4 separate regions of the Homo sapiens genome follow, and regions 1, 2 and 4 are each linked to region 3. The links are contacts of gene promoters, found by promoter capture Hi-C in blood cells and fetal thymus (Javierre and others, 2016). All regions are on one chromosome and are shown on one strand. The core of a region is centred on a gene start or on the middle of the fragment in contact, and the rest is flanking DNA. Distances in the headings are between cores, read along the strand shown. Region 1 has its middle 28 kb from the start of PHOX2A. Region 2 overlaps CLPB (ClpB family mitochondrial disaggregase). Region 3 holds the start of IL18BP (interleukin 18 binding protein). Region 4 overlaps CLPB (ClpB family mitochondrial disaggregase).

Region 1 (6,844 bases), core at 883-3,382, 270 kb before region 3:
AGCTTAAACAGAGTTTCTATATGACCCAACAATTCTACTCCTAGGTTATACCTAAGAGACATGCAGATGTTCAAACAAAAAGTTCTGCATGTTTTTTCTTTTTTCTTTTGCTATTCACAATAGCCCAAAGATAGAAACAACCCTAATATGCATCAACTGATGAATGGATAAACAAAATGTGGTGTATCCATATCATTAATATTATTCAGCCATAGAAAGGATGAAGTACTGATACATGCTACGACATGGATGAACCTTGAAAACATTATACTAAGTAAAATAAGCCAGACATAAAAGGCCACATATTGTATTATTTCCTATATATGAAATGTCCAGAATATGCATATATAGAGCGACAAAAAGTAGATGAGTGGTTGCCAGGATAGGGAAAGGGAGGAATGGAGTAATTGCTTAACTGGTGTAGGATTTTCTTTCGGGTGATGAAACGTTCTGGAACCCGATAGTGGTGATAGTTGCATAACATTGTCAGTATACTAAATGCCTTTGAATTATAAACTTTAAAATGGTCAAAATTGTGACGTTTTATATTTTGTATGTTTTACCACAGTTTTTTTTTAGGATTAGGCAATGGTTTCTTAGATATGACACTAAAACCAAACAACAAGAAAAAATAAATGCAACTTCATCCAAATTGAAAAGTTTTGGCTGGGCGTGCTGGCTCACGCCTGTAATCCCAGCACTTTGGGAGGCTGAGGTGGGCAGATCACCTTAGGCCAGGAGTTTGAGACCAGCCTGGCCAACATGGTGAAACCCTGTCTCTACTAAATACAAAAAAAAAAAAAAAAATAGCTGGGAGTGGTGGCGTGTGCCTGTAATCCCAGCTACTTGGGAGGCTGAGACAGGAGAATCGCTTGTACCCAGGAGACAGAGATTGCAGTGAGCCAAGATTGTGCCATTGCACTCCAGCCTGGGCAAGAGCGAAACTCCATCTCAAAAAAAAAGAAAAAGAAAGTGAAAAGACAACCTATAGAATGGGAGAAAATCTTTGAAACTCAGATTTGATAAGAGTCTAGTATACAGAGTATATAAAGAACTCTTAAAACACAACCATAAAAAGCAAATTAACCCAATTTTAAAACAGGCAAAGGATCTAAATAGACATTTATCCAAAGAAGATACATAAAAGGTTAAAAAGCACATGAAAGATGTTCGGTGTCATTAGCTATCAGGGAAATGCAAATCAAATCCACTATACATACCCGCCAAAATGACTATAATAAAAAAGATAGGCAATAACAAGTGTTGGTGAGGATTTGGAGAAATTGAACTCTCATACACTACTGGTAGGAATGTAAAGTGAGGCAGCCACTTTGGAAAAGAGCCTAACAGTCACTCAAAAAGTTAAACATAGAGTTTCCATCTAACCCAGCAATTCTACTCCTAGCTTATACCTAAGAGACAGGAAAACATACAGCCACACAAAAACTTACACACAATGTACATAGCAACATTTTTCATAATAATTAAAAAGTGGAAACAACCCAAATGTTCATCAAACTGATGAATGGATGGATAAAATATGGTGTATCTATACATATACACAGAATATTATTCAGACATGAAAAGAATGAAGTATTGATTTACACTACAACATGAACCTTGAAATATGCAAAATGAAAGAATCCAGTTACAAAATACCACATAGTAGATGATTCTATTTATATGAAAATGTCCAGATAGGCAAATTCACAGAGACCGAAAGTAGATTAGTGGTTGCCAGGTAATGGGAAAGGGGAATCGAAATGACTGATAATGAACTTGGGGGTTTCTTTTTGGAGTGATGAAATGTTCTAGAATTACATAGTGGTGGTGGTTGCACAACTTTGTGCAATCCTTGTATTGTACACTTCAAAGGGTGAATTTTTTTTTTTTTCTTCTTGAAACAGAGTCTTGCTCTGTCACCCAGTCTGGAGTGCAGTGGCGTGATCTCAGCTCACTGCAAGCTCTGCCTGCCGGGTTCACGCCATTCTTCTGCCTCCGCCTCCCGAGTAGCTGGGACTACAGGCACCCACCACCACGCCCGGCTAATTTTTTGTATTTTTAGTAGAGACGGGGTTTCACCGTGTTAGCCAGGATGATCTGGATCTCCTGACCTCGTGATCCGCCCGCCTGGGCCTCCCAAAGTGCTGGGATTATAGGTGTGAGCCACAGCGCCTGGCCTTTTTTATTTTTATTTTTTTGAGACAGAGTCTCGCTGTGTTGCCCAGGCTGGAGTGCAGTGGTGCGATCTTGGCTCACTGTAACCTCTGCCTTCTGGGTTCAAGCAATTCTCCTGCCTCAACCTCCCGAGTAGCTGGGATTACAGGCAGGCGCCACCACAGCTTACTAATTTTTGTATTTTTAGTAGAGACAGGGTTTCACCATGTTGGCCAGGCTGGTCTGGAACTCCTGACTTCAAGTGATCCACCCGCCTCGGCCTCCCAAAGTGCTGGGATTACAGACATGAGCCACTGTGCCCCGCCTAAAGAGTGAATTTTATGATGTGAATTATATCTCAAAGTTTTATATCTCAAAAATTATGCCTCAGTTTTAAAAATAAGGAAATACATGCTTTCAAAAAAATGTTTTAATATATCAAAGTTAAATGTCAAGAGAATGAGAAAAGAAGTCACAGACTGGGAGAAAATATTTACAAAAGACATATGTGATACAGGAATATTCAAAATATATGCTTACAACTGAACAATAAGAAAACCAGATTAAACAACGGGCAAACTATCTGAAAAGACACATCACCAAAGAAGATATACAGATGACAAATAAGCATATGAAAAGATCCTCCACATCCTATGTCATTAGGGAATTGCAAATTAAAACAATGAGATACCACTATACTTTAGAATGGCTAAAATTCAAAACTCTGACCATACCAAATACTGGCAAGGAGGTGGAGCAATAGGAACTCTCATTCATTGCTGGAGGGAATGCAAAAGGATACAGTCACTTTGGAAGACAGCAGTTGTTTACAAAACCAAACATACTTTTACCATATGATCCTACAACTGAGCTCCTTTGTGTTTACTCAACTATGTTGACAACTTACGTACACCCAAAAACCTACACATGAATGTTTGTAGCAGCTTTATTCATAATTGTCAAAATTTGAAAGAAATTAAAATGTCCTTCAATAGGTAAGTGGATAAAGAAACTCTGGTACATCCAGACAGTGGAATATTATTTAATGCTAAAAAGAAATGAGCTATTAAGCCATAAAAACACATAGAGAAACTTTACATTCTTATCACTAAGTGAAAGAAGTCATTCTGAAAAGCCTATATACTGTATGATTCCAACTATATGGCATCATGGAAAAGACAGAACTATAGAGACAGTAAAAACAGAAGTGATTTCTAGGGACTTAAGTGGAGAGAGATCAATAGGTGGAGCACAGGGGATTTTTAGGGCAGTGAAATTATTCTGTATGATATTACAAGTGTGGGCATACGTTATTATACATTTGTCAAAATCTACAGAATGTAAATACAGTGAACTTTAACTATGGACTTTGGTCAATTATGATGTATGTGTCAATATTGGTGCATTGATTGTACCAAATATTCCAATCTGATGCTAATATCGATAATGAAGGCTTTGTTGGGGGGGGTTGGTACTAGGGCAGGAGAGGGGGGTATGGGAATGCTGTATACTTTCCACTCCGTTTTGCTGTGAACCTAAAGCTGCTCTAAAAAAATTGTCGATTAACTTTTAAAAGTTAAATGAACCACATTCTAATAGAGTTTCTTTTTAAAATGGGGGGGAGGGGAATAGAGCTGTATCCAAAAAGTTATGGCTCATATTTTAACAGGTTAAAGTTGAAAACTGTTTTAGGGTCTTCCTTCCTCTACCTGATTTCTGTAGCTTACCTGGACATACTCATACACACAATAGATGCTTACCGAGTGTTTGCAGGAAGAACAAATCAGTAAGACTCCACGGCATAATCTCATGATTTGGGTTTTTATCTTTGTTTCTTCCCATTGCAGTATCGCTTCATCCATTTAGCATTTCTTAGGCAATTAATTATATAAAATAAGTATAATTTCCTGATGACTAAAACATATCAGCTTAAAGTCCTTACAACATGACAATTTGTACCCCAGAGCAATCTAAGGGAGAGGCAGGCAGAAGCCACAATGTCTTACATGCCCTAAGCGTCAGAAGCAGAACACCACCATTCCCACCATATTGCATTCATTACAATAGAAGTCCCAAAAATGCAAGGGAAGGAGAATTAAGCTTCACTTTTTTGTTTTTGTTTTTTTCTAGACGGAGTTTTGCTCTTGTGCCCAGGCTGGAGTGCAGTGGCGTGATCTTGGCTCACTGCAATCTCCGTCTCCTGGGTTCAAGCGATTCTCCTGCCTCAGCCTCCCAAGTAGCTGGGATTACAGGCATGCACCTCCATGTCCAGCTAATTTCGTATTTTTAGTAGAGATGAGGTTTCTCCATGTTAGTCAGGCTGGTTTCAAACTCCTGACCTAGGTGTTCCACCCACCTCAGCCTCCCAAAGTGCTGGGATTACAGGCGTGAGCCACCGTGCCCAGCCTTTAAGCTTCACCTTTTAAAGGATATAGAGATAGCAGTATACATTAAAAATATGCATGCATATTTTAAAACCACCACACATGTCTAGACACATCAGACTCAAACTTCCAAAACTCAAAGATTAAGAGAATGTCTTGAAAACGAGAAAAGACATATTACATTGAGAAGAACAAAGCACACTTCTCACCAGAAATTATGCAAGCTAGAAGAGAATAGAAGGTCGTACTTTAAGTGCTAAAAAGAAAAAACTCATCAGAATACCATACCCAATGAAAATATTTCAAAAATGAAAGTGAAATACTTTTTCAGACAAACTGAAGGTGACAGAATTCATCAGACCTGCATTACAAGAAATGTTAAAGAAGTTCTTCAGGAAGATGGAATGTGATACCAGAGGGATGCTTGGATTTACATCAAGAAATGAAGACCTACTCCATAAATGGTTAAAAGGAAGCTCTAAGCCACCACCACCTGCCTGCAAGCCGACTGCTTTCCAATTTTGCTTGGAAGGATCACTTAGCTTTGGAAGCCTAGAGAGAGGGGTGAGCGCTCCAAACTTGTAAAGGCATCTTCATTTGGGTAGGGTCTCTTCTCCGTGACCCAAGGAACCCTTGTCAGGGTCATTATAAAACCTTCACAAAGGGCTTGAATTTTCTTTTTTCTTTTTTCTTTTTTTTTTGAGACAGTCTCTCTCTGTCAGCCAGGCAGGAGTGCAGTGGCACTATCTCGGCTCACTGCAACCTCTGTCTCCCAGGCTCAAGCAATTCTCCTGTCTCACCCTCCCGAGTAGCTGGGATTACAGGTGTGTGCCACCATGCTTGGCTAATGTTTGTATTTTTAGTAGAGATGGGGTTTCACCACGAAGTGAGTCAGGCTGGTCTTGAACTCCTGACCTCAGGTAATCCGCCCACCTTGGCCTCCCAAAGTGCTGGGATTACAGGCGTGAGCCACCGCGCCCAGCCTTGAATTTTCTTTGAATGATAGCACCACTGAAACTTCCCCTTCCAGGAAGCTTCCACCAAAGAATTAGAAGATTCTGTAACCGCAGTGTGCACTCCTAAGTGACAGTGTGCTTAACACTCCCCTTCTTATTGCAACACTCTCTCCCAACCCATTCCCACCACCCAAAGACCTATCAGAGCTTCTGTCATGTTAGTAGCTATGACACTGCTCCCTGGATACATCTAGATACATTTCACTGGTTCTGATGTGACAACCTGACCCACCAGAGCAAATCAGACTTCCCTCTCCTCCAGAAATTTTAAAACTAGAACAGAGAATACACCACAAATCTCTGTTTAGAGTGCCTAACTAGGATGTACAGGTCTGGAGCTGTCCATAACCAAGTTGTCTACTCCAAGGGTCAGAATAGTGGAGGAAACTTACCTGCTAGGGGAAAAAGAGCAGAGTCCAGTGGAGCAAAGTGCAGGCAGGAGCAGAGCTAAAGTATTATAATATTATAATATAAATATTATATTTATATTATAAATATTAAATATTATATTTATATTATATTTATAATATATTATATTTATATTATATTTATAATATATTATATTTATATTATAATATTTATAATATATTTATATTATAATATTTATAATATATTTATATTATAATATTTATAATATATTTATATTATAATATTTATAATATATTTATATTATAATATTTATAATATATTTATATTATAATATTTATAATATATTTATATTATAATATTTATAATATATTTATATTATAATATTTATAATATATTTATATTATAATATTTATAATATATTTATATTATAATATTTATAATATATTTATATTATAATATTTATAATATATATTATATTTATATTATAATAATTATAATATATTATATTTATATTATAATAATTATAATATATTATATTTATATTATAATAATTATAATATATTATATTTATATTTATATGATAATATTTAAATATAAATATTATATTTATATTATAATATTGAAATATAAATATTATATTTATATTATATTATTATATATTATATATAATACTTATATAAGTATTATTATATTATAAATATAATATAATAAAGTAAAATAATGCAGCAGCTTTGGAAGACAGTTAGTGGTTGTTTACAAAACTAAACATACTTTTTACTGTATGATCCTTCAGTTCTGCTCCTTGGTGTTTTACTCAAATATGTTGAAAACTTATGTCCACACAAAAACCTGTACATGAATGTTTATAGCAACATCAGAGAATACCATTGGTGTCTGGGTCCCTGGTCCCGGTTTTCC
Region 2 (6,550 bases), core at 1,625-4,124, 400 kb before region 3:
CACCTGAATTCCCTTTATCTGGAAATTGATTGTTATATATATGTTTATGTACAAATTTAACATGAATGGGACCATGCTGTATTTACTGTAAATTAAGTAATTAGGGAAATTGAGTATTAATTTAGATTGAAGTTTCCTGATAGGGCAAAAAAGGGATACAGAGAGTTATATCTTTATGTATTATATATATTTATGGTTTTATATATATAAAATATATATTATCATTATGTATATTCAGCAAACATATTTAAAAACTCTGTGGTGTCAGGTGCTAATGTGCTAGGCTATCAGGGATTCAGAGAATAAGCAGTCACAGCTTTTGCCTTAAGAAGCTTACTTGGACTGCCGACATCCAGGACTTGAGTAATGTGATGGCCATTGTCTTCAGTAGCCGTGCTGCCAAAGCTTTACCAACATTCTACTAGGACAATCCTTTTGCCAGCCCTAGTAACAGCTTGGGTATAGTATTGACTCAAGGAACAGTCATTGGGGTCTGGCCCCTTCTCCACAGTTAGCCCTCTATAAGCCTCATGCCACAAGGCACTTGTTTAGCCTGAGTCTGGGTGTCTCATTCTATATTGCACTCTGACCCAGTCCAGCTAAAGGCTAAGCCACAGGGTCCCAGAATGATCACTGTGACTTAGCGTAGCCTTCACCGGCTTGTGCAAATATACACAGCCTTCAGCTAAATTCAATTAGTTTTTCTTTAAGAAGGAAAAGAAATCCAATTTTACCAAACACGGACAGACGGTGGAAGGCACTTTGATGTTACAACCTCTCGGTGATGCTTTACTTAGTCACAAGTTCATAAGCAAGAAGGCTTAATTACTTGGGAAAACACAGGATTAAAACTGGACACAATGGCTGAGTATCCGCTCTCGGGCGACTTGATTCGAACCCATGCACCCAGTTCGTGTGTGGTGCAAACTTTGATGTGTTCTATGACAGGCTGAAAGTCATGACCCCCTTGGGGAAGCTCCTTCAGATGGCATTTGCAGGATGTGTAGGCGGAGAGGCAGGGCCTGCCAGGCCTGTTTGCTCAACTTTGATGTCCAAGCAGCCACAGGCCCCACTATTTGCTCTTCCACTGAGGGATGGATTGGGAGCCTCCTACCTTTCCCAGTGAACAATGGCCAGCAATGGAGTGTGACGACTGTTGACCATTCCAGAAGTCTGGTGGACCAGAACAGGGCTTTGGGAGGTGCAGAGCCTGGGGGGCCAAAAGCTGTTCATAGGACAGTCATTTCTCCAGATGTAGCTTTCCTTAAAGCTCTGGTATTGTTAGGTGCTTGCAATGGAGATAAAAATAGTCTCATGAGTTTTAGCACGGTTTAAGTACTTCTTGGCCCTCTGTTCCAGCAGCACTAAGATGTTTGTAAATTAGAAGTTTAAGTTGTTCCTAGTCCCTTAATTAGAGTATATGTGCAGAGGATAGTGGTTTAGAAGAAAAATTGTAAGACTTAGATTCTTATAATTTCTAATTCATAAAAAAGGAGCTGTAAAAACATGTATCTTATAAAGCAGTAGTACCCAGAACATATAAAGAAGTCTTACAAATCAATAATAAAAAAAATCTAATTTTTTTAAATGGGCAAAATATTTTAGCAGATGCTTCATCGAAAAAGAGATGGGTGGCAAATAAGCACATGAAAACATACTCAGTGCAAATTCAAGTCACAATGAGATACCACTACATACCTGCTACAGTAGCTAAAATTTAGGAAAACTGACAATACTAAGGGCTGACAAGGATACAGAACAATATTGATACATCACTGATAGGAATGCATAATGGTATAGCCACATTGGAAAACACTTTGGCAGTTTCTTATAAAGGTAAAGTATACATTTACCATACCACAGAGCAATAGCAACTCCTAGGTATTTGTCTAAGAGAAATAAAAATGTACGTCTGCAAAAATACCTGTATGTAAATATTTATAGCAGCTTTATTCATGACCACCAAAAACTGGATATAATGCAATGTCCATCAACTGGTGAATGGACCAACAAATTGTGGTATATCCATACGGTAAAAACAGCCAAACAAACAATGACAACAACAAAAGCACCATGCTAAGCTAAAACCAACACAAAAAGCTACCTGCTCTGTAATTCCATGTATATGACATTCTGGAGAAGACAGAACTTTAGGGGCAGAAATCAGATTGGTGGTTGCCAGTGTTTGGGAATGGGAAGAGAATATAAAGGAACTTTTTGGGATGATGGAGAAATATTCTGTATCCTGATTATCATGCTGGTTACATGAATGTATATAATTATCAAAATTCATTAAATTATATATCTTAAAAAGGATGAATTTTACTCTGTGTAAATGTGATACTTCAGTAAACTGACTTTAAACACTTTTTAAAAAGCTGTCATCCCTCTCTAATTTTCATTATTAATTGTGACCAGTGGCATACTGAGAATTTGTATTAGTAGTATCAAAATTAATTCATATTGTTAATGGTCACCTGGAATGTTTTGAATTCTTATTGTTGATGATATCTCACATTAGAGTGATATGCATTCTGATTTTTAGTAGGGAATGAAGATTTGTCAATTCATACTATCAGTGATGTAATGAAGTATAATTACTGATGAATAGTGATAAATTCACTTTATGAGTAGTGTACAGTGGACTTGTATAAATTCATAAAGTATATGATTCTTCATTCCAGCAAGGAGAAAGTTGAGGTTACAGACTGGGAGCTTGCCTCTCCCACACTATTCTTGGGTTCCTTATCTCTGGACTCTCATGCAGGGACACCACCTATATAGTGAGGCCGTTGTGGTGCTTCAGGAACCAAAGATCCTGAAAAGGGAGGCTGGTGTGGGGAGATTTTGATTTCATCCTGCTTGGGCTTGGTGGTGGCTTTTGCAAGCCTTTGCCTCGGAGAAGGTGAGAACTGCAAGGCAGAGCATGAAGCACATCAGAACTGTTTGAAATTCCCCACAAGAGTCTCCCTCCCTCCTTCTGCCTTTTCTCCCCGAGTGCATTTCATCAGTGTCGGAAGGACTGGTTCCCGGCACTGCCTTCCCTGCTTGGCCAGGGTCCCCGAGGAACTGAGCTAATGAGTGGATAACACGCATTTGCCAAGGCCTTCCTGGATGTGGTACCCGGGCTTTGTTAATTTTAAAGTGCTGCCATCCTTGGCTGAAGACCATTCAATTCCCTCTCACAGCAGTCATTTATTTTTAGCATTTGCTTATTTTCCCTCTGCCTTACTAAGGGGAGAGGGTGCATTAAACCCTTTCTTTAAAAAACCGATAGCCTAAGCCAGATTGCTGTCCTACAGAAGAGGTTTTAAAGGCCTTCCTTTGTGGACCCCAACAGCTCCATGGGTGTTCTTAGAGCGAAGAGCAGATGCTAATCTTGCAGCTAGACTACTGGCAGCCTCCCTGGGAGGCTCTGCTTCCTTCCTGGCTAGCTATACGTGGAGCAGGTAGAGTACCAGTGTACCTGTGCTTGAAAGTAGGTCCTTAGGGAACCTGACCAACCACATGGAAGTCGGTCCTGCCTTAGGGGCACAGAGCCTTTTCCGTCTTCTAACCTATTCTTGGTCTGGCTTCGTGCTGTAGAGTAGGGCTACCTTCTGCCCAAGGAGGCTGGGCTTTGTGCTGTGTGATCTCCTGACTGTAGTAATGATGATGGCAGTAGTTGATTGGGTGCTTTCTGTGTGCCAGGCCCATGTCAAGCACTTCCCATGTTGGGTCTAATCCTCAGGGCAATCTTGAAAGGAAGGGATTATTATTCCTATTTTACAGATAGGGAAAATGAAGCTCAGAGTTGTCCAAGGTTGTCCAGCTAGTAAAAGAAGGAGCCAGGATTTGAAGCTGGGTCTTTCTGAACCCCAAACCCTTGCTCTTTCCACTGGACTACACTGCCTATGGAGGGAAGGGGCCGGGAGCAAGGCCATGGGATGGACCGAAGGATGCTGGAACCAGGAGTCAAGTCGGCTCTATCAGGGTTTCTTGATGACCCATGATGTATTATATGGATTTTGAGAACTGTAAAAACAGACAAGCCACTCTCCTTGTTCTCAGAAAGCTGACACTCAGAAAAGGGATAAAAGTCCCGCTTTGGAGAATGAGGCAGAATGTGTTCAGTGCCACAGAGAAGAACACATAGAGTGCTGTGGAGGAGATGATGCTGTGTAGAGCCAGCATCATGAAAAGAGGCCCTTTCAGAGGAGTTGGGCAGGATTTGATTGGTAACATAGGGAGTAGGGGGAGAGCATTTGCAGAAGGACCATTGTGAGCATAGGCTCACAAAGGTGGAAAGCAGAGATGTGCTCGTAGAAGCAACCGGCAGGGAACCCAAGAACATGGGACCCCTGAGCAGGGTACCTTGATATAGGCTGGCTTTTGTTACAGGTGGCCACCTGCCCAGTGCAGGACAGTACCCAGTATTCCCCAGCAAGGAAGGATGGGTGAGGGTGCTGGCCAAGTGCCCAGAATGCCAGCACCGCAGCACCGTGCCCCCAGGAAAGTGTTGGGCTTGACGTTTCTCCCACCCCTACTGCTATGGCCGATTATCTCTGAGTAAGAAAGAGTCATTTCTAATCCCATTTGGAATCGTTGCTCAAGATAATCCTGTTTTGTGGTAATGATATTCCAATTCCAGCATGCACTCGTAGTTTGGCAGACACATGCCTCAACCTCAGGCAACTCAAGACGCTGCTCCCTGGAAATCAGTGCCAGCTCATTTGCCTAACGTGACAGTCTCAGGGTATACTTCCTGGGCCCAATGCTCTGTTCTGTCCTGGGGTTCTGTGTTCAGTGCTGTCTTCATGGAGAGTGGCAGTTGGGGATAGGAGAGCATCCAGTGTTCATTATGGAGAGTGGCAGTTGGGGATAGGAGAGCATCCAGTGTTCATTATGGAGAGTGGCAGTTGGGGATAGGAAAGCATCCAGTGTTCATTCAGTTCAGCTGCTTGGGGCAGGGTGTTCCATCTCTAGGAACTGTGAGATGGTCTAGTTCTATACCTCTTCTTTAAGAGACTTCTTTAAAAACAGCTGTACCATAAGCTGCTTATTTTAACAGAGCTGCCAGGCTGGTGGGCCAGGGGTCGGCAGTAGATATCATGGGTGTTTCAGGCTTTTAGTAAGATATTTGGATGTCTCTAATGACATCTATATGAGTAAAATTATGATGTAAAAATAGTATAGTCAGACTAGTAAATGTAAATGACCTGGTTCATTGTTTATGTATGAATGGACATCAGACTAGAGAGCAGGCTTGAGTGGTGAGCAATGGGGCTCTGTCCTGTTCAGTATTTTATATCACTGATTTCATTGAGGTCATTGATAAATGCCAACAGAGTTAATGAAGCTTGAGGAGGTACTAATATATTGGGTGAAAAAATAGGGGACATTAAATAAAACCTCAGTGGGCTAGAGCAATGGTTAAATCTGTGTTGATAAAAACTAACAAGGATAAGTATATGGGTCAACAATTAAAAACCAACTGTAAAACCCAACGTGCAAAACTTAGCAATACTAAAAGTAAAGTCTAGAAGCTGACTAAAAACCCAATATGTTGTCTGCTGTGCAACATCAGGCCCCAGAAGTGAATTGATTCAGCAAATATTTACTGCCCTGTATAGGCCCTATGTGTGTGGAGATGGAAATAGTCAAGGCACAGTCCCTGCTTTGGGGAGCATCCAGTCTACTTATGTATACTATGGTAGTGAAGAATAGGGGCTCTGGAGTGAAGCTGCCTGTGTTGAAGACCTTGCTGTGCCTCTTATGGTTTTTAGTTTACCCATCTGCAAAATGGGAATAATAATGGCACCTACCTCAGCATAAGGTGGTTGCAAAGATTAAAATGCACATAAAACTACTTAGTGTAGTGAATAAGTAGGTATCTGCTGCTGTTATTAATATTGTTTTTTCTTTTTGTTGTTATTTTCACCCGAGTCTAAGAGATATGCCAGCCCCATCATACTGTTCTGGATCATTTGCCTAGAGAGAGCCTAGTCTGGGTCCATACTGTAATAAGTCCTAACATCTAGGGCCTGACTACACTGGCCTTAGGTTTGGTGACCATATATTATGAACCACAAATTGAAAGACATGGAAGTGTATTTAGAACTACGCTGAGGATGTGAAATTGGGATTATCTTGGAAACCCTGTTGTGGGTGATCTTGATTCCTTGGCCATCAGCTTAACGTGCCATGCCTTCCTCGAGCCTTGCCCCTAATTATATCACCTCTGTCTGGGTTCACCACTGATTTTTACCCTTGTCTATCTCAAACAGACTCCTTCTTATCCCAGCTAGCTGCTATGACCTGCTTTGCTTTAACTGCCATCTGAAAATATCACTGTTCCTGGTACTATGCAGTAAGAGCTTAGTAACTATGGGATAAGAAGACAGACTAATGGATGGTCAGTTGGGTGAGAGCCAACGTGGTTTAGGGGAATGTACACCAAATTTAGACTCAGACAGACCTGGTTTTGAATCTTGGTTCTTGTGCTTATTTAATGTGTACATTTGGGTAACTCATATTATCTTGCCGAGCCTTAGTTTACTTATTTATAAAA
Region 3 (4,879 bases), core at 2,068-4,567:
TTGGGAGGCTTCCAGAAAGTCATGTGGGAAATGCAGGTAGGGCCCTGGAGTGCAAGGCTAAGGCATCAACAGTCTTGGTGGTTTCTGAGCAGTAGAGCAGTGTGAGGAGTAGGACGTTAGGAAGGCTAATGGATAGGTGGAGAGAGAATGGCAGGAGGAGGAGGCATTATAAGGAGGCTGTGATTTTCTAGGTAGGTGGGAATGGAGTTTGAATTTGGTGAGAGAAGGGACCCAAAGCAGAGAAGGAGGGGGTGTGTTGCGCATCCACGCAGCCTACAGGCAGTCAGGGACTGTTCACTCCAGGTAGACAGGTAGGACCCAAGCTCTGGTCAAGGTTGTGCTGCTGCTGGCCCTGTGCTGAGTCTTAACCCTGCTGCTGTGGACTGCTGTGGCTGGAGGGCAGGGCTTCTTGGGTGGGGGGCAAGGTTGCCCTCAGCCCAGCCTAGGGAAGTGAAGGCAGACAAGGATCAGGCCAAGGAAAGGAGGGACATCTCATCACTTTGCCCCAGGCTACACCTCCTCTGCCCAAGACCTAAGTTCCTTTTTGTCTGGCTGACCTTGAGGAATGCTGGGCATTAGTTCACAGGCTGCTCTGGCAGAGCCCACCCTTTCCTCCCCACATATGGAAGCAGAGCTCCTCCTGTTCCTGGAGGCCTCTCCTTGGGCTCCTCACCCAGAGCTGGGCCAGGACGACGTGACGCTGGACAACCTGTTCAGGGTCCACGAGCACACAGGAGAAGTTGGTGCTGTGCAGGGCAGGGGTCAGCTGCTCCAGCACCAAGGCCTTGCACAGCTGCGTACCTGTGCTCCCACGTTCCCGGCTGGAGCGGAAGGGAAGGAAAGGTCATGAGAAGGCCGCAGAAGGCCTCCTTCCCACCCACCTGGCTGCTGCGACCCTCACCTGGTGCTCCCCTCCCACAGTCGGCCTGGGAGGTGCTCAATGAAGGAACCATTGCCCAGCCAGTAGAGGATGCTGAAGTTGGGGAAGCGGCTGCAGGCCACACAGGATAAGCTCAGCGTTCCATCTAGGGACACAGGCAGCAGTTAGCTCTTCAGAAGAGCAGGCCCTTCCCCTACCCTGCTCTGCTGTGCCCTCCCTGCCAGCTCCCCCCAGTCCCCATGCATCTGGAACCTAGAGAACTGCTCTGCACACCACCTAGGTGGGAACGTCCGTTACAGAAGTGCAGTTGTCTCCGAGAGGCCCTAGCCCTAAACACGGGGAATGTGAGGAATGGTCCTTGGTTCACGTGATGAATCCTCTTCTGAACCTGTCTCCTCAGGATGACCTTTTCTAGTGCCCAGCCTCGGTGACTTGGGAGCCCAGGTGACAAAGGCAGTGCTGGATGGCTGCTGCTCCTCTGAGATGGCCAGAGGCCAGCAGGCTCTGGGTGGAGGGGCTGGCCTTGGGGTCCACTGCAACCAAGGCTCTGGGAGGTCCTGTGACCATTACTTATGTCTTGAGTTCTCTGTCCTATTTGATAGGGAGCATCTTGGGAGCTGCGCCAAGCCTGCACCCATGACACTGGGTTGGGGAGGGAGAATGGTGCGTGCTCAGCCCAGCTGGCTCAGCTGGTGGTACATGGGCAGAAGGGGACTGGCGCTCAGGAGTCAACCCGACCCTGGGAACCTCTGTGCCCATAGCCCACCCTCCACCACTGTGCTTCTTACTCAGTGGCACTTCCACCTCTGGCCAGGTCACTTCCAATGCTGGACACTGCTTAGCTGCTGGGAACACTGGGGGCTGGGAGGGGCAGGGGTCCTTTGTGCTTCTAACTGAGGCAGTGGCAGCTGTGGTGGTCTGCGAGACAGGTGTGGCTCTGACCAGGAGAGTGACGACGTGGGCACACAGGAGCAGGACCCACAAAGGGCTGAGGTCTGAGGAAAGGACAGTTACAGGTCAGCGGCTCTGGAGACAGAGTGGGCTGCCCGGGTAAGGATGTAACTCCAGCCCAGAGATGTCTGGGTTCTAGCCAGGGAATCAGAGCGGGAAGAGGGACCCCTCAGCACCCACCCCTTAGCCCTTTATTGAACAGAGTACAGAGAAGCTTTAGACTGGAGCCAGAGCTACAATATCTGCCCAGGTTCTTAAAGCAACAGCACCAGGTGCGCTGGGTGGTTTGCCTTGGAGTGAAGGCTCCGGGTTAGCCCATTGCTCCATTCTGTTCATAGACCTCACCCTACCCCGCCTGCCCATGCGTAGCCCCAAGGCCTACCTGGTGTCCAGTTGTGTCTCATGGTCATGATGCATGCGTCAGGAGCTGGTGAGCCTGGCTCTTTATCTGTGACAACGTCCTCTTCTCTGGTGAAAGGTGGGGGAGGAGAATGGTAAACCACTCCCGCTTTTTCTCAGTAGCTGGCTTTTCCTCAGTAGCTGGCTTCTCCTCCCGTAGCATAGCCTGGAGCTCTTTCAGCACTTAGAAACAGAGCTGGGGGGGTCAAGTGACAATCCTTCCCCACCCCAGCTCTCATGACCACAAATGGTTGTAAGATGCTTACCTAGTCCAATCTTACCCCTTCATTAGGGAAGGCAAAATTGAGACCCAAAGAGAGAATATGGACTCACCCAGTCACACAGGGAGGCAGTGCTCTCTTCAGCACCAGAGCTGCTTCTGGGAAGGGCAGGATGCCGAGCAATCCTTCTGGGAAAGCACTGCCCCGACCCTCTATTTCACTTTCACTTTTTAACCAGGGAATCTTGAGCAGCTGTGACACCTCTGCTTTAGCCAAAGTTCAGTGGCCAGAAACCTTCAGCTCCTGGGACTCCTACTCTCCAGAGGATACCAGACTGGGATCTCTAATCTACCCCCATGCCACCCCCAGGGTCACCTAGGGTATGAACTAGATGAGTCTCTCACAGATCAATTCTGTCCCGCCCAAGTGTCAGGACTTTGGTGTCCGCCTCCCCTCTTCACAGCCAGGTCTTTGTTTCCATATGAACAGGCATCTGCTTCCTCCTTCACCTTCACACTGACATTCAAGGGGACAACTTTCCTAGGCACTGGGGAACCCCAAGTTGGACCACTTCAGGCTCAATGCCATACCAGTCCGTCCACATCCTGGCCTTTCCCAGGCTACCCACTCCCCCAGCCACCAGCCCCAAGGTCGGCTACATCTCCCAGCACCCACCATCACACCCTCTGTCTCTCATCCTAGCCCCTCTGGCCAGAGCCACAGGTCTAGGTTCACTAGTAGTCCCAGACTCCTACCTGGCTCCTAAGAGGTCCTGAAGAGCCTTCCTTTCCAGAAGCTTCCCTCTAGGAGCTCCAAGACTCAAGTTAGCTGTGTCTAGCTGCGTGTGAACCCACCACAGGAAATACACCGAGAGCACTTCCTCCTTGTCTGTAGAACTCTCACGGCCAACCCAGGAACTGGCACACAAGCTCGAGAGCCAACCCTAACAGGAGGGAAGGGCAGGCACTTCCCGGGGAAGAGGCGGACTGGCTCAACACTGGCTCTGGCAACAGAGTCTACATCAGAATATGAATCTTGTCACTGATGGGACAAATGGCGCTGGGGCTGCGGGAGGGCCAGGATTCAGGGTGAGGCGTGTGAGGAACCTAGGATGCTAAATCTAAGGAGGTTTTCTCTCAGGGTCATGCAGTTATCCATGGAGGCAGAAAGACCAGGGCTGGGTGATCCAATGCATGCATATATTAAGTGTGGACAGGAGCTGCATGTCTGAGGTTTGTGACTCCTGTGATTGGGAGGGTGCAACGGCTGGTGACAGAGCCAGGGAGGCCCACAGATGGAACTGGGTTTGGTGGATGCATCAGGAACACAGTCAGCTGTGATCTCAAACTTCTTGTAGAAAAACCAGATTCATATTCCTAATTTAGACATAGGATACTACAAGTCACATCCTTCTTCTCTAGGTGTCTAGTTCATGTTTTTCCTCCTCTCAATTCCTCCCCCTACCTCCTGCCCCAGGGGCTTCTAGCATGTAAGATGCAGGAGAAATTCCTCCCAAGAACACCAGCATCTCCAGGAGTTAGGTCAGGAGGCAAGGCTGCCTGGGGTTTCTGAGAGAGACAGTCCAGTGGGGGATGGTAGGGAAAGATGACAGGACTCTGTCTTAGTGGAACCGAGACCAGAGTCAGGCCAAGGGGGGAGGTCAAGGGACTCAGAACTGTTACACATGAAAAGAGCTTTGGACAGCCTGGCCTCGGCTTCTCACCTGAGCCTGACAGGGGGGTGGGGGGAAAAAGTAAAAGGAAGGGTGATCCCTAGGTCCTCTGACCAGCCCCATTCCCCTCTCTGAGGAGGGGAACAGCCCCACAGGTGGCATAAGCAGCAGGGTACCATGGGAAGCCACAGCTGGGGAAGAGAAGCCGAGCCTGAGTGTGGTCCTCAGGAAGGCAGGTGGTGGCGGGACACTGTCCTCAGGCAGTGAGAACATAGAGCAACCTCAGTCTGAAGGCAGGCCCAATGATGCCCCAGGCCCCCAGGCCACAGGACAGGAGCCTGGCATTCCACCACTCCTAGGGATGTCAGCAGGGGAACAGCTGGGAACAGCAGAAAGGCAGGCCCAACCACCCCCAGACCCTCAGGTCTCCGATGGGGGTTAACAAAGGCAAGACACCCCTGGGGACCCCAGGGAAAGAGGTGGGAAGAAGAAAGCAAGATAAATGTTCAGCTTTCCAACCCAGCTCATGGAGCTTTATTCAGACGGGAGTGACAACATCCTGCTTCGTTCTTGCTGCCCTTGAAGGGGCAGGCCCTACTGAGCCATATTCCCTAGAAACCCAATGCCGAAGGCCCATGTTTGACCTCCCACTTTATTCAAGTCGCCTAGGACTAGGGCTGGGGCCTTCCTAGAAGCCCCCTCTCAGAACCTGTTCTCACCCACCCACCACTCCCGTTGTCAGGCCCAGGGAGGACC
Region 4 (6,537 bases), core at 214-2,713, 420 kb before region 3:
CCTCCCACCCTAGCATTTTAATATGCAAATGCAGGGCACCATGTCCTGAGTAGCTGGGATTACAGGCATGCGCCACCACACCCGGCTAATTTTGTATTTTTAGTACATATGGGGTTTCTCCATGTTGGCCAGGCTGGTCCCGAACTCCCGACCTCTGGTGATCCGCCCGCCTTGGCCTCCCAAAGTGCTGGGATTACAGGCGTGAGCCACTGCGTTCTGCTGGGTAGACCCAGTTTTTTTAATGGCCTTCATTTGTATATCAAAGGTTGCCGACTGGCTCTAAGAACGGGGCTTTACCAGAAACTTCTGGAGATGCTTTAAAAAACGAAAATTTCCCAAGGACCTCTCCCTCTCTTATCTGCCTGAAATAGTTTCTTAATAACTCCTACAACACCAGTATCTGTGGATTCCCATAGCACCCTGTACTATATAAGTGAGAGCACTTACCACCTTCTGTTGGGATGGGTTATCTGTTTCCTTCTCTCCCTCACAACACTGTGAGTTTTGGAGGGCAGCAGACCATTGCTGTGTTGTTCATCACTGTGCATGTAAATAGTTACCAAATACTCACTGAATATTATTGAAAGTTTTTTTTTTTTTCCCCTGAGATGGAGTCTTGCTCTGTTGCCCAGGCTGGAGTGCAGTGGCACAATCTCGGCTCACTGCAACCTCTGCCTCCTGGGTTCAAGCCATTCTCCTGCCTCAGCCTCCCGAGTAGCTGGGATTACAGGCGACAGCTACTGCGCCCAGCTAATTTTTGTATTTTTAGTAGAGACGGAGTTTCACCATGTTGGCTGGTCTTGAACTCCTGACCTCTTGATCCGCCCACCTCGGCCTCCTAAAGTACTGGGATTACAGGCGTGAGCCACCATGCCCAGCCATTGAAAGCGTTTTGTGTTTTTGTTTGTTTGTTTATTTAATTGAGACAAGATCTCATCATGTTGCACAGGCTGGTCTTGAACTCCTGGGCTCAAGCAGTCCTGCCTTGGTCTCCCAAAGTGCTGGGATTACAGGTGTGAGCCACCACGCCTGGCTAAAAGTGTTTTGTAAATGATAAAAATTAAGCAAACTGTGTAGCTATTACAGTCATAATAAACCTGTAGACAGAGGACAAACAAAAATGAAGTAGTTCAATCGTTTATTCATTAAACAAATAGTGCCTACTATGTGTGGCACTGTGCTTGGTAGATCAGTAGTCAGACATGTACAGGATTTGCCTCATGGAGCTCAAAGCCTTGTCAGACGTGAATCCTACAAATGCGAAATGACAACTAGTACAAATGCTGCAAAGGAAGGACACAGAGAATCAGGAGAGCCTGTGACAGCCAGATTTCCCCTGGTCAGAGGAAGCTTGAGCTTGGAATTGAAGGATAAGGAAGAGTTTATCTAGGTGGAAAAGGTTGGGAAGAGCTCTCTAGCACAAGGAACTTTTATTTACAAGAATCCTGCATGAGGAGGAAGCAAGGCCAGTGTGAAGGACTGAAAAAGGCCAATGGTACTCCAGCTAGAGGAAGGTGCCAGGAGCCTAGAACAAGCAGACCCTACAGGGCATCAGAGGCCACATGAAGAAGCTTTGTCTTTATTTTTATGGCAGTGGCAGCTGAGATGGGTTGAGAGGGGATCAATATGATCAGTAGCCATTCTGATGGCTGAGGAACATGAGGAACTAATGTGAGTGCCTTCCTGCTTGTATGTGCCAGGCATCATCTTGGGCATGGTCCTGCCTCTTGAGGCAGTGTAGGCCACAAAGCTGTAATCGCTCAGGGCCTAACAGCAGGGGCAGTTGTCAGGCTCTGCCTCCCTACCATCATTTATGTCGCCCAAGTGCTATCTCTCCTCTAAAATCCCAGCTTAATCAAAATCATAACGCAATTCATGTCAGCACCGCCAGAACCAACTGGAATTTTTCTCCCAAGGAATTTTCCTGGAAACTGAGGAACAGAGATGAATCTAAGAATATTGAAAACAATCAAGCCAGTGTGTTACTGGGCTTCTAATATTCACTTAAGCTGCTTGCCTTGTACTTCCTGTTCTGTGTCTGCCTTTTTGAAAAAACCTCAGAAAATTTCAGTTTCTGAACTTTGAGGCTCTACTATGTCCTGCCTCCTTTGTGTTCCTCCCTTCTGAGCAAGAGCCCTAGGCCCAAAGTCCTTCTAAGGCAATCAGTCGTCCTCTCCTTGTGATTCTGTCAATGGATGCAAATACAAGTGGATTTCTTTTCTTTTCTTTTTTTTTTTTTTTTTTGGAGATGGAGTCTCACTCTGTCACCAGGGTGGAGTGCAGTGGTACGATCTCAGCTCATTACAACCTCTGACTCCTGGGTTCAAGCGATTCTCCTGGCTCAGCCTCCAGAGTAGCTGGGATTACAGGTGTGTGCCACCACACCCGGCTAATTTTTGTATTTTTAGTAGAGACAGGGTTTCGCCATGTTGGCCAGGCTGGTCTTGAACTCCTGACCTCGTGATCCTCCCGCCTCAGCCTCCCAAAGTGCTGGGATTACAGGCATGAGCCACTGCACCTGGCCTTCAAGTGGATTTCTTATCATTAGCAGGAAGCAGTGGTGAGGACTTTGGAGTCTGACAAAACAAGGCTTGAATCCTGGCTGTGACCATTGGTTAGTTCTGTGACCTTGGAAAAGTTGTCTAACATCTTTAACCTTAGATTCTTCATCTGCAAAGTAGGGATGATAATTGACCTGCCTCACACCATTGCTGTGTCATGTTTACTGATTCATCTCTTCACTTTTCTCTTCAGTTGCTTCTTATGTATTTCTCCTGACCTAGGCTGTGAGCCCTGTCACAGCAAGGTGTATGGCACCTCCTTCTCCTGCCTTCACCGTAGTAAGTCACACAAGGCTGGCTGGCACTCAGAAGACACATGGTACAGATGGAGTCTGGCCCGTTGATTGATTGGTTGATAGAAACCTTGTTTATTCTCCAAAGGCTAACCAGCAGGAGAGCACAGCCCTAGGCAGCAGCTGGGCAGGCTGACTGGTCTCCAGGATCCTCCATTCATGTGGATGGAAGGCTCAGGAAGGCTGCATAAGAATCCTCTTTGAGGCTGGGCTGAGGCTTCCATCTCAATGCCCTTTTGTTTGAAGGGATAGCACCCAGGCCTCCTGCGAAGCCTGTGTGTTTGACCAGCCTTTGCAGATGGACAGTGTACTGGGGCAGGATGTAAAGCACAAACAATTGAGGGAGGCCCCCGGAATTCCCAAGGGCTCAAGAGTCCAGCAGGGGTGGGGAGGGGCAGGATCCTTCCCAGGACACATCAGGGGCTCAGTCACAACCCCTAGATGGGTCACACAGGATCTCAGGCACTTTTGTCTCCAGCCTCATTTCCTTTCCAGTATTCAGGTCCCCACTTTAGCTTCTCTGATGGTCAACATCCAGCCCTCTTTGGGTGCCTCTAGGTATGAGGCACTCTCTGCCTCCTGAAGAATAGGCAGATTCTGACTGAATATACATTCATTCTTTTTTCTTTTGAGGTATAATTCACATACCATAAAATTCAACCTTTAAAAATATACAATTTAGTGGATTTTAGAACATTTATAAGATTGTGCAACCAGCACCACTAATTCCAGAATGTTCTATCACTCTCCCACCCCACCCCGGACCCTCAGAAAACTCTGGTTCCAATAGTAGTTACTCCCCATTCTCCTCTCCCCCTAGATGTTGCAACCACTAATCTGCTTTCTGTTTCTGGATTTGCCTGTTCTGAACATTTCATATAAATGGAATTATACAATATGTGGCCTTTTGTGTCTGGCTTCTTTCACTGAGCTTAATGTTTTCAAGGTTCATCTATGTTGTAGCATATATCAGTACTTTATTCCTTTTTGTGGCTGAATAATATTCCCTGTATGGATGTACTACATTTTATTGGATGTACATCCATACAGGATGTCATTTGTCAGTTGATGGACATTTGTGTTTCCACTTTTTAGCTATTATGAATAATGCTGCTGTGAACATTCGTGTACAGATTTCTATGTGAATGTATGTTTTCATGTCTCTTCAGTGTATACCTAGGAGTGGAATTGCTGGGCCATAGAGTAACTGTACATTTAACATTTTGAGGAACTGCCCAACCATTTTCCAGGGTGGCTTCACCATTTTACATTCCCAAAAGCAACGTGTGAGGGTTCTACCTTTTCCACATCCTCACCAACAATTGTTGTCATCAGTGTTGTCATCACTTACAGCAAACCTAGTGTGTGTGGAGTGGTATCTCATTGTGGTTTTGATTTGCATTTCCCTAATGGCTAATGATGTGAGCATCTTTTTATGTGCTTATTGGCCATTTCTGTATCTTCTTTGGCATTTATTCATTCTTTTTTCTTTTTTTTTTTTTTTTTTTTGAGACGGAGTCTTGCTCTGTCATCCAGGCTGGAATGCAGTGGCGCGATCTTGGCTCAATCCAACCTCTGCCTCCCGGGTTCAAGCGATTCTTCTGCCTCAGCCTCCCAAGTAGCTGGGATTACAGGCACGTGCCACCATGCCTGGCTAATTTTTGTATTTTTGGTAGAGACGGGGTTTCACTATGTTGGCCAGGCTTGTCTCGAACTCCTGACCTCAGGTGATCTGCCTGCCTCAGCCTCCCAAAGTGCTGAGATTACAGGTGTGAGCCACCGCACCCAGCCATTCTTTGGCATTTATTCATTCTTAAGGCCTGTTATGAGCAATTTCTTATTAGGCATTGAGGGGGAGAAAAATGTATCATGATGACCTTTGTCTTTCAAGGAACTTGCGGTCTGGTAAGAGAATTGTAGTTAGTACAGGTGAAAAGTTAGGGCTTCACAGGCAAGGTGGCCTTTAGTTTGGGTCTGGAGATAGGTCGTATTTGTATACAAGGAGCTTTGCAGAAAGACTTTCTGGGCAGTTGGAGTAATGTAAGTAAAGACAATTTGTAATTAGTAGTAGAAAACAGTTTTATCTTCTGATGAGCTCTGAAGCAATAGTGTGAAAGCACCTGGCATAGCACTTGGCACATGATGGGCTGTCATTATGTGTTAGCTCCCTTTGCAACTCCCCTCACTTGGTCCCAGCTCTGTCTTCTAGGACTACATGGCTTCCTTTTCCTGTTCCAGATTTTTAACTCTTAGGAGACAGAGCTCCAAGCTATATGAGCCTTGGTTCCCTAAACTGTGGTTTCAAGTCTCCTCCTCATCCTAGTCATTTTAAAATGAAACAGCTAGAAAGTTTTGGTGCCCTCTCTGAATTCCAGTGTGGCATGACCATTATTGTGAGGAGCAGGGCAACCATCCCCTTTGTTAAAGATTTTATACTTCTATTAATATGGCCCGACCTTGCATTGGCTTTCTTGGCAGCTGCGTTACACTCCTAGGTTCTGTTAAGCTTGTAATCGGCCCAGCCTTCTGAGATCCATGACTTCTTCTGTCCTGTAACCCTTTGATTGGATTTGTTTGCAGAGCTTGTTTTAACCTAAAGGTAAGGACACTTTAAGGCTTTGTATTTGCTTGTGAATTTGTAATATTTGAAATGTGAATATGTACTATGTGAAAGTAGTGGTGGTGGTATGGAGACTACCAGAAAGAAGAAAGGATAGGCTTGGAATGTTCTCAGCATGCGACTAGAAGGAACTAGAACTTCCAAGAGAGAAGGTTCTAGGAAGCTTCAGGACTAAACAGAAAGTATCTTCACCCCTCAAGTAAACTCCTTTCCACTTGAGGCTTTTCCTTATTTTCTGTCAGCTGATTGGTCCCATCAGACAACTATGGTGTGCTGACGCATGCTAAATCTGGGAAAGAAGGGAAGAATTGGGCATATGAGCCCTGGAAGGCAGTGTGGCTCCATAGAGCTTGGGCTTCATCCCCGGCTGCTACTTATTGGCCTTGTAATCTTTCTTTTTCTTTTTTTTTGAGACGGAGTCTCACTCTGTCGCCAGGCTGGAGTGCAGTGGTGCGATCTTGGCTTACTGCAACCCACGCCTCCCGGGTTCAAGTGATTCTCCTGCCTCAGCCTCCTGAGTAGCTGGGATTACAGGTGCCTGCCACCATGCCTGGCTAATTTTTGTATTTTTAGTAGAGATAGGGTTTCACCATGTTGGTCAGGCTGGTCTTCAACCTCTGACCTTGTGATCCACCCACCTCGGCCTCTCAAAGTACTGGGATTACAGGCGTGAACCACCGTTCCCAGCCTGGCCTTGTAATCTTAATCAGTCATTTACCCTCTGTAAGACTTGGGCTTCTTTCAGAGGATCAAATGAGATCATAAATGTCAAGTATCTGTTGCGTAGTAGGCAGCTCAAGAAATGTGAGCTCTTTTGAACTCCATCATTCAAGAGCTTTGCAAGGCGGTGAGTTGTGCTCCCTGAGCCTGTGTAAACATCTCTGAGCACCTGTGATACTTAGTGCACTTATTTGTGCGCTTGTTTCATTTTCCCTCCTCCAGCTCAGAATAAGAGCTCCTTGTAGGCAAGATTCATGTCTGATTGACTTCGGTGTCTGTCAATGCCCAACACAGAGGCTAGCTTGGAGATGTTACTTCAGTTTTGTTGAGTGAGTGAAGGCCA

Evidence for each region. The method cuts DNA at HindIII sites, captures the fragments that hold promoters and counts their contacts. A CHiCAGO score of 5 or more calls a contact.
Region 1: a fragment that was not itself captured here is called in contact with the fragment with the promoter of IL18BP in region 3 in 1 of 17 cell types (monocytes); the score reaches 5.1 in monocytes.
Region 2: a contact is called between a fragment that was not itself captured here and the fragment with the promoter of IL18BP in region 3, in 1 of 17 cell types (monocytes). The highest score is 5.2, in monocytes.
Region 4: a fragment that was not itself captured here is called in contact with the fragment with the promoter of IL18BP in region 3 in 8 of 17 cell types (naive B cells, erythroblasts, naive CD8 T cells and 5 more); the score reaches 10.0 in naive B cells.

Annotation. Positions count from the first base shown.
Region 1 is chr11:72,268,270-72,275,113 of GRCh38, reverse strand. No RefSeq gene overlaps it. Among named protein-coding and RNA genes, the nearest start is that of PHOX2A, 28 kb to the right of the region's middle. The HindIII fragment of the contact is 4,255 bases long and covers 5-4,259 here.
Region 2 is chr11:72,392,719-72,399,268 of GRCh38, reverse strand. All of the region lies in intron 3 of CLPB (ClpB family mitochondrial disaggregase), which reads left to right. Among named protein-coding and RNA genes, the nearest start is that of CLPB, 39 kb to the left of the region's middle. The HindIII fragment of the contact is 4,933 bases long and covers 408-5,340 here.
Region 3 is chr11:71,997,347-72,002,225 of GRCh38, reverse strand. It overlaps IL18BP (interleukin 18 binding protein), which reads right to left and starts at 3,317. Exons shown (of 6, transcript NM_001039660.2): 1 at 3,207-3,317; 2 at 2,214-2,299; 3 at 1,669-1,875; 4 at 902-1,025; 5 at 674-821; 6 at 1-442. The coding sequence starts at 2,241. The coding sequence ends at 365. RNF121 (ring finger protein 121) reads right to left here. Exons shown (of 9, transcript NM_018320.5): 9 at 4,629-4,879. The HindIII fragment of the contact is 5,155 bases long and covers 3,250-4,879 here.
Region 4 is chr11:72,414,562-72,421,098 of GRCh38, reverse strand. The region is part of intron 2 of CLPB (ClpB family mitochondrial disaggregase); the gene reads left to right. Among named protein-coding and RNA genes, the nearest start is that of CLPB, 17 kb to the left of the region's middle. RefSeq lists enhancers at 1-325, 1,008-1,694, 1,695-2,382, 2,383-3,070. The HindIII fragment of the contact is 221 bases long and covers 1,353-1,573 here.